Linked DNA regions of Homo sapiens: region 1 is linked to region 2. Evidence: promoter capture Hi-C in human tissues and cell types (Jung and others, 2019). All regions are on one chromosome and are shown on one strand. The core of a region is centred on a gene start or on the middle of the fragment in contact, and the rest is flanking DNA. Distances in the headings are between cores, read along the strand shown.

Region 1 (5,577 bases), core at 382-2,881, 77 kb after region 2:
CACCAATGTAGTGGAAAACATGTATCCCCTTTGGGTCAGCCCATCAACTGAGGTTGGAGGTCACTAGGCTGTGAGAGTTGGGCTGTGTAAATATCCCTGGAACAAGACAGTAAAAGTCCATTGTTCTTTTTAGGTTAATGCAAATTGATCTTGAATGTGGGGCAGCAGAAATGCTGAAGAAGGTATTGACTAAACTGATAACGAAATGCTATGTGGCTAACACCTCTCCTATTCTCGTCAGACTGGAGGAGATATTAGGAACAGCTGCATTCACTCGGGAGACCACCTTATTTAACTCCCAGTAATCTACTGTCATTCTCCATGTCCCAACTGGCCTCTGCATGGGCCATGCAGGTCTGTTGTAGGAACTGTGCAGTGGCCTCCTAATGCCTACCTGGGCTAACTCCTTAACAATCTTCATGATTGGATCATCTTCCCCTCCCCAGGGCGGGTGGTGTTGCTCCAGCTGTGGGACTCCCCATGGGTTGGCAGCTCTACCGGCATCCAGTTTGCCTTCTGCTTGGTCACATGCGTCACCACTTTAACTCTCAGTTGGAATTCCCTGGCAGTTGTTTGGAGGGTCACGCCTAAGAAGATATCCATTCTCATGTGTTCTAAGATGGAAGCTATGTATACTAAACAGGGTCTGGGTGGCAGTCCCCCAGGTCGTATCACTAGTTCAACCTGTCTGACTTCTGTGGCCCTTCCATAATCACCTATTGCTGCTATGGGCCCAGATAACTGGTAGGTGTTGCCAGTTAGAGCACATTTGTTGTCTGGCCACGCTGACTGGCTCCTTGGCTGTCTCTCTTCCTTTGGTGCCATTGTTTTTCATCACAGTAGGGTGCATCCCTTGCTTACTCAGTTTCTTCTTTTCTCCTAAGTCAGCAACTACCTGGGGCACATGAAATGTTGGCTGCCCTCCCAGGGGGCTTAACATGGAAATCAGTGCACCATGCCATTTGGTAGGCACTGAATACATAATTGTAGCTTTTATTTTGCAGTAAACAATTCATTGTTGGGACTTCAATAATTCTCAGCATAATTAGCATGCCTCATTTCAACTCCCAGAAGATGTCCTGCAACTCTTCTATAGTCTGCCATTGAGAAGGAGCTGTGTGGGCATCTTCCTCATTGGACCTGGCCCCGCTGGAGCCTGCAACCACTTACCATAAAGGTGCCATCATAGGGCTGGATGGTTTGTGATGGGTGCCATTTTACTCATCTTGAGTCCAGAAAGTATAACACTCTCCACCCCCTGTCCCATAGAGAAGCCACCCTGTGATCCACTCTCTCCCCTTGTGTCTGAATCCAAGTCTAAGCTCCCCCAATTCCACAGTGGTGGCATCCCACATCGTGGTTCACTGCCTTCTCTTAGGTGGGGGAAAGTTCTGTGGGGCTAACTTCTGCTGGCACAGTTGGCCCACTTTTATGTTGGTGGTGACCACCACAAGTACCATTTGGCTACAGACTGTGTCCTGGTATTCCAAGGCTTTTGTGTCTGGAAGGCATCCTTTAGCCAGCCTGCTAAAGGTTGTTCTGGATGTGGAGTGGCCCTCTGTCACATCCTCCACTTGTAAGGCATGACATGTAGTGCGGTTGTTACTCCTAAACAGTATATCTCACTTCAGCTTCCTTCTGTCTTTGAGACCAGGGTCTTAGGGACACACACTTATGTCCTTGCCTTTAACACAGTCCCCACCTAAACCCCTCAGGGTAACTGACTACATCCAATTCACAGGGCTGTCCCTGCACTAGAACTCCCAAGGTTTGTATTCATTTCACTGTGACTTTAGCTTCTTCAGAGCCCTCATCCTCCCTTTTGGAACAGTCGCAGTGGGGCACCTTCTTGACTAAGTGCCATGGGGGCCTAAGGAGTTTGCCGAAATGGGGAATAAAGGATCGCCAATGTCCCAGGAGGCCTTGGAAGGTTTCCAACTGCTTTGGTGTGTTGGGACATGAGTAGACCTGCATCTTATCTTATCTATAATGAAATATGGAATAACTATAGTCTTATGTAACCAGATGACACCAAGTATTTGACTGATAAGCCTAGACCCTGGACTTTGTCTGCATTGACCCCCCCATCCTCTGTTCACCAAGTGAGACAGCAAAGCAGGGGCTGCAGGGCAAGAACCTTTATGGAGTCATCCTAACCTTCATCTCCTTCCCACTGGAGCTCTACATCGGACACCAGGACTTAGGCTTCCAGGACGATGTAGTCATAATAGTCCTAACGCATTGGTGTGGCAGTCGGCAACACTTTAAATGGCCTACCAAATAAACAATGGTCTCCAATTTGCTATCCTATCCCTGCAGGCGGCATCTCATTATAGTTACAGCTGTTCTTGTGGCTGACACACCCTAGCCTGTGCAGTGAGCTCTGCCTCAGTGGTTGCTCAGAGTGCAGTCAGGAGTGGCCAACAGCTGCGACAGCTCAGGCATCTGACTGTCACTTTGTCACATTGTCACATCCACCTCAGGCAACAGGTCCTCCAGAACTTTTGGCATTTTGGAGGCATCCCTGTACACTTGCAGCAGGCCCTATCCATCAAGGATTGCAGCTGTTGGGCCCACAGAGATGTGCATGGCCTGCCTGGGATTTCCCCACAGGTCTCCCCTTCCTTGACACCGTTGTCTAAGAACTTGTGGGATTTTCTTTGACCTTGTTCTGGGCCTCCCAATTGTCATGCTAGACCCCTATTGACTGTAATAGGCGTGGCACCATGTCCAAAAGGCTAAAGAGGAGACCTGGAGCCCATGAACAAGATCTAGGGTGTATTGAGGACTTCCATACAATGTGGCCCAGGAAGAGTGTGTTGGACAGGAAAACCACTACCATTTGTAAAACATGTGTAGTTTATATTATGATTTTCACTTAGCACCCTCTACCTAGCAACCTCCAGATTTAACAAAGAGCCTCAATCACCTGGACATCCTGTGTTCCAAGGGATAGGCCAGGGCTTCAGACGTCCTTCACAGACAAGGAATAAACTTCTGGGTGGACAGCTCCTGGATTTCTTAGCTCAGAGCTCTGAACATACATTCTTCTTAAACTATAGGGTCATTCTCACAGTGTGCTTAAATTAATGCTGCCAGGCATTTCTGGCATACATAGATCTGAACACGCACCTCGTAAAACAATGTATAAAAAAGTGTTCATCAAGACTTTGTATTAGGAATATGTATATTTAAACAACCATTAAATACTGCTACTCATTTACTATAATATTACAATGGCTGCACAGCAAAGCATTGGTGAATACTGACAAGGCTCCAGAAAAGAAAGTCTTATTCACTGTTGGTAGGAACATAAAATGGCACTTCCTTTTTGGAAAATATTTTCATGATTTCTTTGGAGTTAAACATGTTAATTGAACAGATGACTCTAAGGTACTTTATTCAACTGATTTTTTTGTTTTGTTTTGTTTTGTTTTGTTTTGAGATGGAGTTTCGCTCTGTCACCCAGGCTGGAGTGCAGTGGCGCGATCTCGGCTCACTGCAACCTTCGCCTCCCTGGTTCAAGCAATTCTCTGCCTCAGCCTCCCAAGTAGCTGTGATTACAGGCATCCACCACCACGCCCAGCTAATTCTTTGTATTTTTAGTAGAGAAGGGGTTTCGCCATCTTGGCCAGGCTGATCTTGAACTCCTTACCTTGTGATCCACCTGCCTCGGTCTCCCAAAGTGCTGGGATTATAGGCATGAGCCACCGTGCCTCACCTATTCAACTGATTTTAATACTTACTTCTACACAGATACTTTCATGGGAATGCCGGTATCAGCTTTCTTCAGTAGAGCTTTTCCTCCTCCATGAATTTTGCTTATAGGGTGATAATTATATAAACAATTCCCATATAATTGGGCCAGGCGCAGTGGCTCACACCTGTAATCCCAGGACTTTGGGAGGCTGAGGAGGGTAGATCACCTGAGATCAGCAGTTCGAGACCAGCCTAGCTAACATGGTGAAACCCCGTCTCTACTAAAAATACAAAAATTCGCCGGGCGTGGTGGCGGGTGCCTGTAATCCCAACTACTCTGGAGGCCAAGGCAGGAGAATTGCTTGAACCTGGGAGGTGGAGGTTGCAGTGAGCTGAGACTTTGCCGTGTCACTCCAGCCTGGGTGGCAGAGTGAGACTCTGTCACAAACAAACAAACCAAAAAAAAAAAAAAAAACACCAAAAAACTGAAAAAACAAACTTCCCATATAATTAGAGTATATACTTCTATTGTTACTTTTTTCAATTTATTAATGACATACTGTAAACAACATTAAAAATAATAATCCCTTTCATTTCTCAGCCCCAGCACAGCTGCCTCCTCCCTGGGGTTTCTGACACTCTCAGGATGTGGGTTTTCACACTGTGTCTCTCGCACAGTAATACGTGGCCGTGTCCTCAGATCTCAGGCTGCTCAGCTCCGTGTAGGCTGTGCTGATGGACGTGTCCCTGGTCATGGTGACTCTGCCCTGAAACTTCTGTGCATAGTTTGTGCCACCACTGTTAGGGTTGATCCGTCCCATCCACCCAAGCTCTTGTCCAGGGGCCTGTCGCACCCAGTGCATATAGTAGTCGGTGAAGATGTATCCAGAAGCCTTGCAGGAGACCTTCACTGAGGCCCCAGGCTTCTTCACCTCAGCCCCAGACTGCACCAGCTGCACCTGGGAGTGGGCACCTGTGGAGAGGACACAGGAGTGGATGAGATCTCCCTGGACTGGACTCAATCTCTTTCTCATCACTGGGACTAGGGAGCCTCCTACCTGTAGCTGCTGCCACCAAGAAGAGGATCCTCCAGGTCCAGTCCATGGTGAGGAGCTGAGCTCTCAGGGGATTCTCTAGAGGACGGATGTGGTTGTTGGGTGATGCTCTCAGGGCAAGGACAGATCTGTATTTACTTCAGTAAATCTCAGGTTATTTGCATATTCATGAGGGGTACTATTTCATAGCTTCATAGCTCTAGACTTGATCCAAGATGAGAAAGAGAACACACATTATTTATGGGCCATGCAACAGTGGGACGCTGAAGCCCTGTCCTAATCCTTGTTTAATGATGTGTGTCCCCTTGTATGCCCAGAACTCTGCTAAAATAAATTGTCTCTGCTGAAAACAAGTTCCCACAAAACATGGTCCTCCAAGTGAACCCATACTTAAATGGCACTTTGACACCTTCATACTTTTCTGGGCTTTGCTTTCTGCCTGTCTTACTACTGTCTCTGCTAAGATTGGCAAGCACTGAATTAATAAAACTATCCCTTTTCTCCATCTCCTAACTATTAAGATATCTGAAAATCCTAGAAATTTCTCCTTTTAAATGTGATTCTCATTGACTTGTTAGGTTAGATAAATCCTACAAATAGTCTTTACTAAATTCTTGTTTAACTTATTAAAGCATGTTTGTTCAAGAAAAGGAAGACATCAACCCCTGGGAGGAACCCCTCCCCAGCCTCCTGTGCACCTGCTCTTGGGCTGCAAGTCTGTGCTGCGGGGAGGCCCGAGCGCTCCCTGCCACCCACACCTTGCACTGCAGGGAGCTTCCTGTTGGGTCTCACAGAGCATTTTTCTCTCAGCCTCTGTAGCTCA
Region 2 (5,302 bases), core at 1,876-4,375:
TTTATTCACATAGCAGCCAGGGTGATATTTCTAAATTGCAAATTGTATTAAGCTATTCTCCCGAGTTTTATTGTAAAACATATTGAAAGAAAATTGGAAATCCAATTTTATTATTGTGGGCTACATTACTTGGTCTTTGACTAACTCTTTATTTTGTTCTTATGCTTCTACCAGTTGTGGGTCTTCTACAGTTCTTAGAAAGTCTTTCATGACACAAGGCCTTTTCATTTACTATTCTCTATTCCTAAAATGCTTTTCTTCAAACTTTCAAAGTTAGAAAAACGTCACCAACTCAGAACCTTTTCTAAAATACTCCATCACACACATACCACTCCCATCATTATTTACTCTACCATTGCCTTTTTATTTCCTGCTTGTCTTTTAGCACTAGTAGCAATTATTTTATTTTACTTATTTATATTTTATTTTATTTTTATTTGTTTACTTATTTATTGTCTGTCTATATTTTCAGAATGGAAGTTTGATGAGGCAGATATTGAGTGTTCCTTGTTCATTGTTGTGTCTCAGCAGGTAGCATATAGTAGATACTCTCTAAATGTTTGTGGGATAAACAAATGAATAGTTTACAGAAGTGACACAGAAGCTATATATTTAGGAATAGACTTTTTAATATCACATGTAGATAGCTTTGTTTTGACATGTGTTAAATGACAAGTGCTGGACAGAATAAGAATTGTTGCGTCATTTATGGTATTTTAGGTAATGGTTATGTTAATGTAGGGAAACTAGGTGCTTGTTCTTCCTTGAAGTGACATGGTGTAGTGGTGTGTGTGTGTGTGTGTGTGTGTGTGTGTGTGTGTGTGTGTGATGAGTAGTGGCTGAGCATTACTAGCTTTGGGAGTAGGGGGTTTGATTGGCTGCCTGACTATTGGATTGAGATGCTCCAGCAAAATATTTCTTTTCCACTTGACACTTGTGAAGGGTGGAGGACAGAGACACTCATCAAGGAGTGTGGAGGGATGAATCCTTTGTATTTTTGTCCTAAGGAATAAATGTGGTTGATTTTGGTTCTTAATGCAAAGTATATACATCATTAGTTTCTAATTTTATGTCATATGTTGAACACTGAGGTACAAAAGAAAATCTCTTTGACACTTTTTTCTGGTAAAATCACCCTTTCTATTCCATAATACCTGATGTATGTCTGTCTTTTCAAGACATCAACACTCATTCACATAAATTCTTTCTAGATTAGTGCCATTTTCTACTTCTGTTTTGGTGGAATGGGTATGGAGTAGAGCAGAGGAAGAAGGGGTGATTTGTGTGATGACACTCAGAATCATTGCATCATGTCCCCATAATAATAAAAAAGCATATGATCTTGTAATGGTATTTACTGCTTTAAAATATTCATCTCCTTTCAATAATAAAGGGACAATTATTTACTTAGGAACAAATAATCGCTTCCATCTGGTCAAAAACTACATAGCATTATAGCAAAATATGTAAATGAGCTGAGTAATCATAATATTTCAGATGCTTTTGTTAGAAATTTATTTGATTGTTGGAACCTCATAGTTGACTTATCAGTGAATGTAAATGAGTTAGTATATAACTAGCTCATAGCCCTCATAACTAATAACACAATGTTGTGTTATTAGTTATGAGGGCTATGAGCTGCCTCCTCCAGGTAAGTACAATAAGATCATTGTTTCTTGGAATGTTAGGAAATATTTCATTCTGGATAACCTTATTATCTTTCTTTTGATTAAAATCTTCCTAAACCAAATTTTAAATTTTTCAATCTTATTAAATATGCTTCATTAACTCACTGAGGTCCACACTGGGCAATTTATGGACAAGGGGAAATTGATCCCTTTTCTAAATAGTCCCACACTATTCAATTTCTGAGTATTTTTACCTTTCTTCCGCTTGCTACCAGATTCCTGGAAAACACTGGTTTTATGTGTGTGTGTCTGCTTGTAGTAAGCCATCCCTTTTTCAAAATACAATGCTTCTATAAGATATTGAAAGTCATTTATCTATGTTTGTTAAAATTATGTGTAAATTGAGTCAGTAGGTTCCAAAAATGGCGCATTTAATTTCTTTTCTCAGTAGTATACATAGTGCCCATAAGTGTTTGGACACAGCCACGTCTATTTGGTTTTACAGAACCTTAACTTTTTAAAAATTCCTTTTCATATTTAATTTTTTTAAGTAATAGGAGAGGCAATATCATAAAATATCACATCAACAGAAAAGAAACAACTCTCTTGTATTTGCTGTTGGTTACAACAAAACTTACTTTGGTGTGGCAGTTTTTAACCTTACTTAAAGAAAAGCATATTTGGTAATGTGAACTGTTATTTCATTTTTATTTGACAAGTTTTGTGCTATTAGTGGTGTCAGATTCAATACAGGGCAGTAAGCAAAATTTTAAAAATAATATTATTCCCATTGTCACCTTGAAACAGCAGAGCAGATCAGCTCAGAATCAAATTGGGTAGCAAGCATACTCATTTCTCAGATCAGTACACCTACTTACGTTCCTGCTGTGGTGAGCAAATTTTATACTCAATGTAGTATCAGGTATTGATGAATCTGGTCACAGCTAGAAGAATTTTTTATATAGGGCCTTGCATAGCTGTATGTTGTGGCTGGTTACCTGTTACCAAGGATTAAGCTGTACAGGTTTTGGTTACAGTTACGGAAAAATATGTCCCTTCACTACTTATGAAGCCTTGGGATCTCTTTTCTGTATCACAACTAAAGTACTGCTAGATCTGTGTGTGTGCTATTAGAATGCAAGCCTAAGTTTCCAAGTTGGCAAGATTTCCCAACAAAAAAAAAGATATAGAAAAAAGAGGCCACATCTCTGATTGCCAGTCTAAAATTTGGCTACACTCAGAAGTAGCTTCACATATTGCTTACTAATGTAGATGTTTGGGGGAAGAAGTAGTGCATTGCCAAATTTCAGAAAAAGTAAGTTTTTAACATTAACAAGCTGAGATTTGAGTTTCAAATATATGCCACACTTCATATAGTTTTAATGTTTCCAATTTGTAACTTCATCACATACTCTCTCCCTCTTGGTTTATCAGATATAAAATGGGCAACCAAATGTATCCTCGTGTAATCTGTTAGTGACAGGGAACGTATGACAATTTTGAAAGCAGTGATATAACTCTAGGTAAATGCTATGTCTACTAATTATAGTTTCTTAATTTTCATAGCTATATTATGAAAAGAGTAAATTGAAGAAATGGAAACTGCAAATTACACCAAGGTGACAGAATTTGTTCTCACTGGCCTATCCCAGACTCCAGAGGTCCAACTAGTCCTATTTGTTATATTTCTATCCTTCTATTTGTTCATCCTACCAGGAAATATCCTTATCATTTGCACCATCAGTCTAGACCCTCATCTGACCTCTCCTATGTATTTCCTGTTGGCTAATCTGGCCTTCCTTGATATTTGGTACTCTTCCATTACAGCCCCTGAAATGCTCATAGACTTCTTTGTGGAGAGGAAGATAATTTCTTTTGATGGATGCATTGCACAGCTCTTCTTCTTACACTTTGCTGGGGCTTCGGAGATGTTCTTGCTCACAGTGATGGCCTTTGACCTCTACACTGCTATCTGCCGACCCCTCCACTATGCTACCATCATGAATCAACGTCTCTGCTGTATCCTGGTGGCTCTCTCCTGGAGGGGGGGCTTCATTCATTCTATCATACAGGTGGCTCTCATTGTTCGACTTCCTTTCTGTGGGCCCAATGAGTTAGACAGTTACTTCTGTGACATCACACAGGTTGTCCGGATTGCCTGTGCCAACACCTTCCCAGAGGAGTTAGTGATGATCTGTAGTAGTGGTCTGATCTCTGTGGTGTGTTTGATTGCTCTGTTAATGTCCTATGCCTTCCTTCTGGCCTTGTTCAAGAAACTTTCAGGCTCAGGTGAGAATACCAACAGGGCCATGTCCACCTGCTATTCCCACATTACCATTGTGGTGCTAATGTTTGGGCCATCCATCTACATTTATGCTCGCCCATTTGACTCGTTTTCCCTAGATAAAGTGGTGTCTGTGTTCAATACTTTAATATTCCCTTTACGTAATCCCATTATTTACACATTGAGAAACAAGGAAGTAAAGGCAGCCATGAGGAAGTTGGTCACCAAATATATTTTGTGTAAAGAGAAGTGAAAGATAAATTATACATTTTATAGTTCCCCTGAGGATCATTGTCCTAAAGCAGGAAGTATTTGCAGTAATAATGCTGCATTGACTTCCTCCTTTCATTTGTGTTATTAAAATTTTACTATAATTTTTCTCTATTCATTCCTCTTTATATTGAAAAAATAGAGGCATTAAGATGAAAATAAATTTACTCACACCTACCCTGAAATTCCCAACAGATCATTATTAGAATTTGAGATATAATAATCTGCTAAAGTACATTTTAACTAATTGTTTATTGAGTACTCTGCAGAGGCTCTGGCTTTGACGGGAACATGTTGAGAAAAATAAATAAGACATGAGACGTGTCTATTACAAATATGAAGTAAATGGCAAGCATATGGATGCAGCTAGCTTCAAGTTAGCAAATAAATATTGTTGTCATGTTTCAGTGTTGGCTCAGTGGAATGGTATCTGGTCAACATCTTGCTGGGTCTGGAAAAACAGATTATTTGTCCTTTATCTCCTCTTATTTCCAGAGTTGATGGAAAATGAGGATTTTCCATCAACTTATAAACTGAAATACCTTATAAAGGTATTTCAGTTTATATTTCAGGTGGTGTCTATTCAACAGTTTGGAGACAGAACTCAAAATTTTATCACATTATGAAAACAATTTTTATGAATTCAAAGCAGAGTATAATTTGGCTGATACATGAGATTCATGTCATTCCAGATGAAGCCTCCAGGCAACTAGCAATTTTTGTAGCCAGTCCCTACTTACATCCTTCAGAGTGAAAGCAGCCTTGGGGAGAAAGCTTCTAGGTTGACTGGGATTGGTAGACATCTAGCCGTGTAATTTTTTTCTAAACTATCATCTCCTTTGCCACTTTTGTATGTTTTCCATAATTGCTAATTCTGCCTCTCATGTTAAACTTAAATTGGTAGAGTGCTGTTTTTGTTAGTGCTTAATTCAGAGTTCTTTCCCATTGACAGACCTAGACGTATTGGTTCCCATGATCCCTTAGAGAATTATTAGGGACTGATTTCCTATTCTCAAGCACTAAAAACTCACTCTCCAAGCTTCAGAATGTAAGAGGTAGATTAGAACATTTGATTTTATAGGTTATGTTTTTACTTAAATTTATTAGTTTTTAATTTCAA

Evidence for each region. Contacts are between HindIII fragments. The study calls those that stand out against the background at their distance.
Region 1: a fragment that was not itself captured here is called in contact with the fragment with the promoter of OR4M2 in region 2 in 4 of the 25 tissues and cell types used here (bladder, dorsolateral prefrontal cortex, heart right ventricle and 1 more).

The regions. Positions count from the first base shown.
Region 1 is chr15:22,156,066-22,161,642 of GRCh38, forward strand. It overlaps the pseudogene IGHV1OR15-1. Among named protein-coding and RNA genes, the nearest start is that of OR4N4, 64 kb to the left of the region's middle. The HindIII fragment of the contact is 9,231 bases long and covers 1-5,577 here.
Region 2 is chr15:22,077,402-22,082,703 of GRCh38, forward strand. It overlaps OR4M2 (olfactory receptor family 4 subfamily M member 2), which reads left to right and starts at 3,126. Exons shown (of 1, transcript NM_001004719.2): 1 at 3,126-4,209. The coding sequence starts at 3,224. The coding sequence ends at 4,165. The region is part of intron 7 of OR4M2-OT1 (OR4M2 overlapping transcript 1); the gene reads left to right. The HindIII fragment of the contact is 6,887 bases long and covers 1-5,302 here.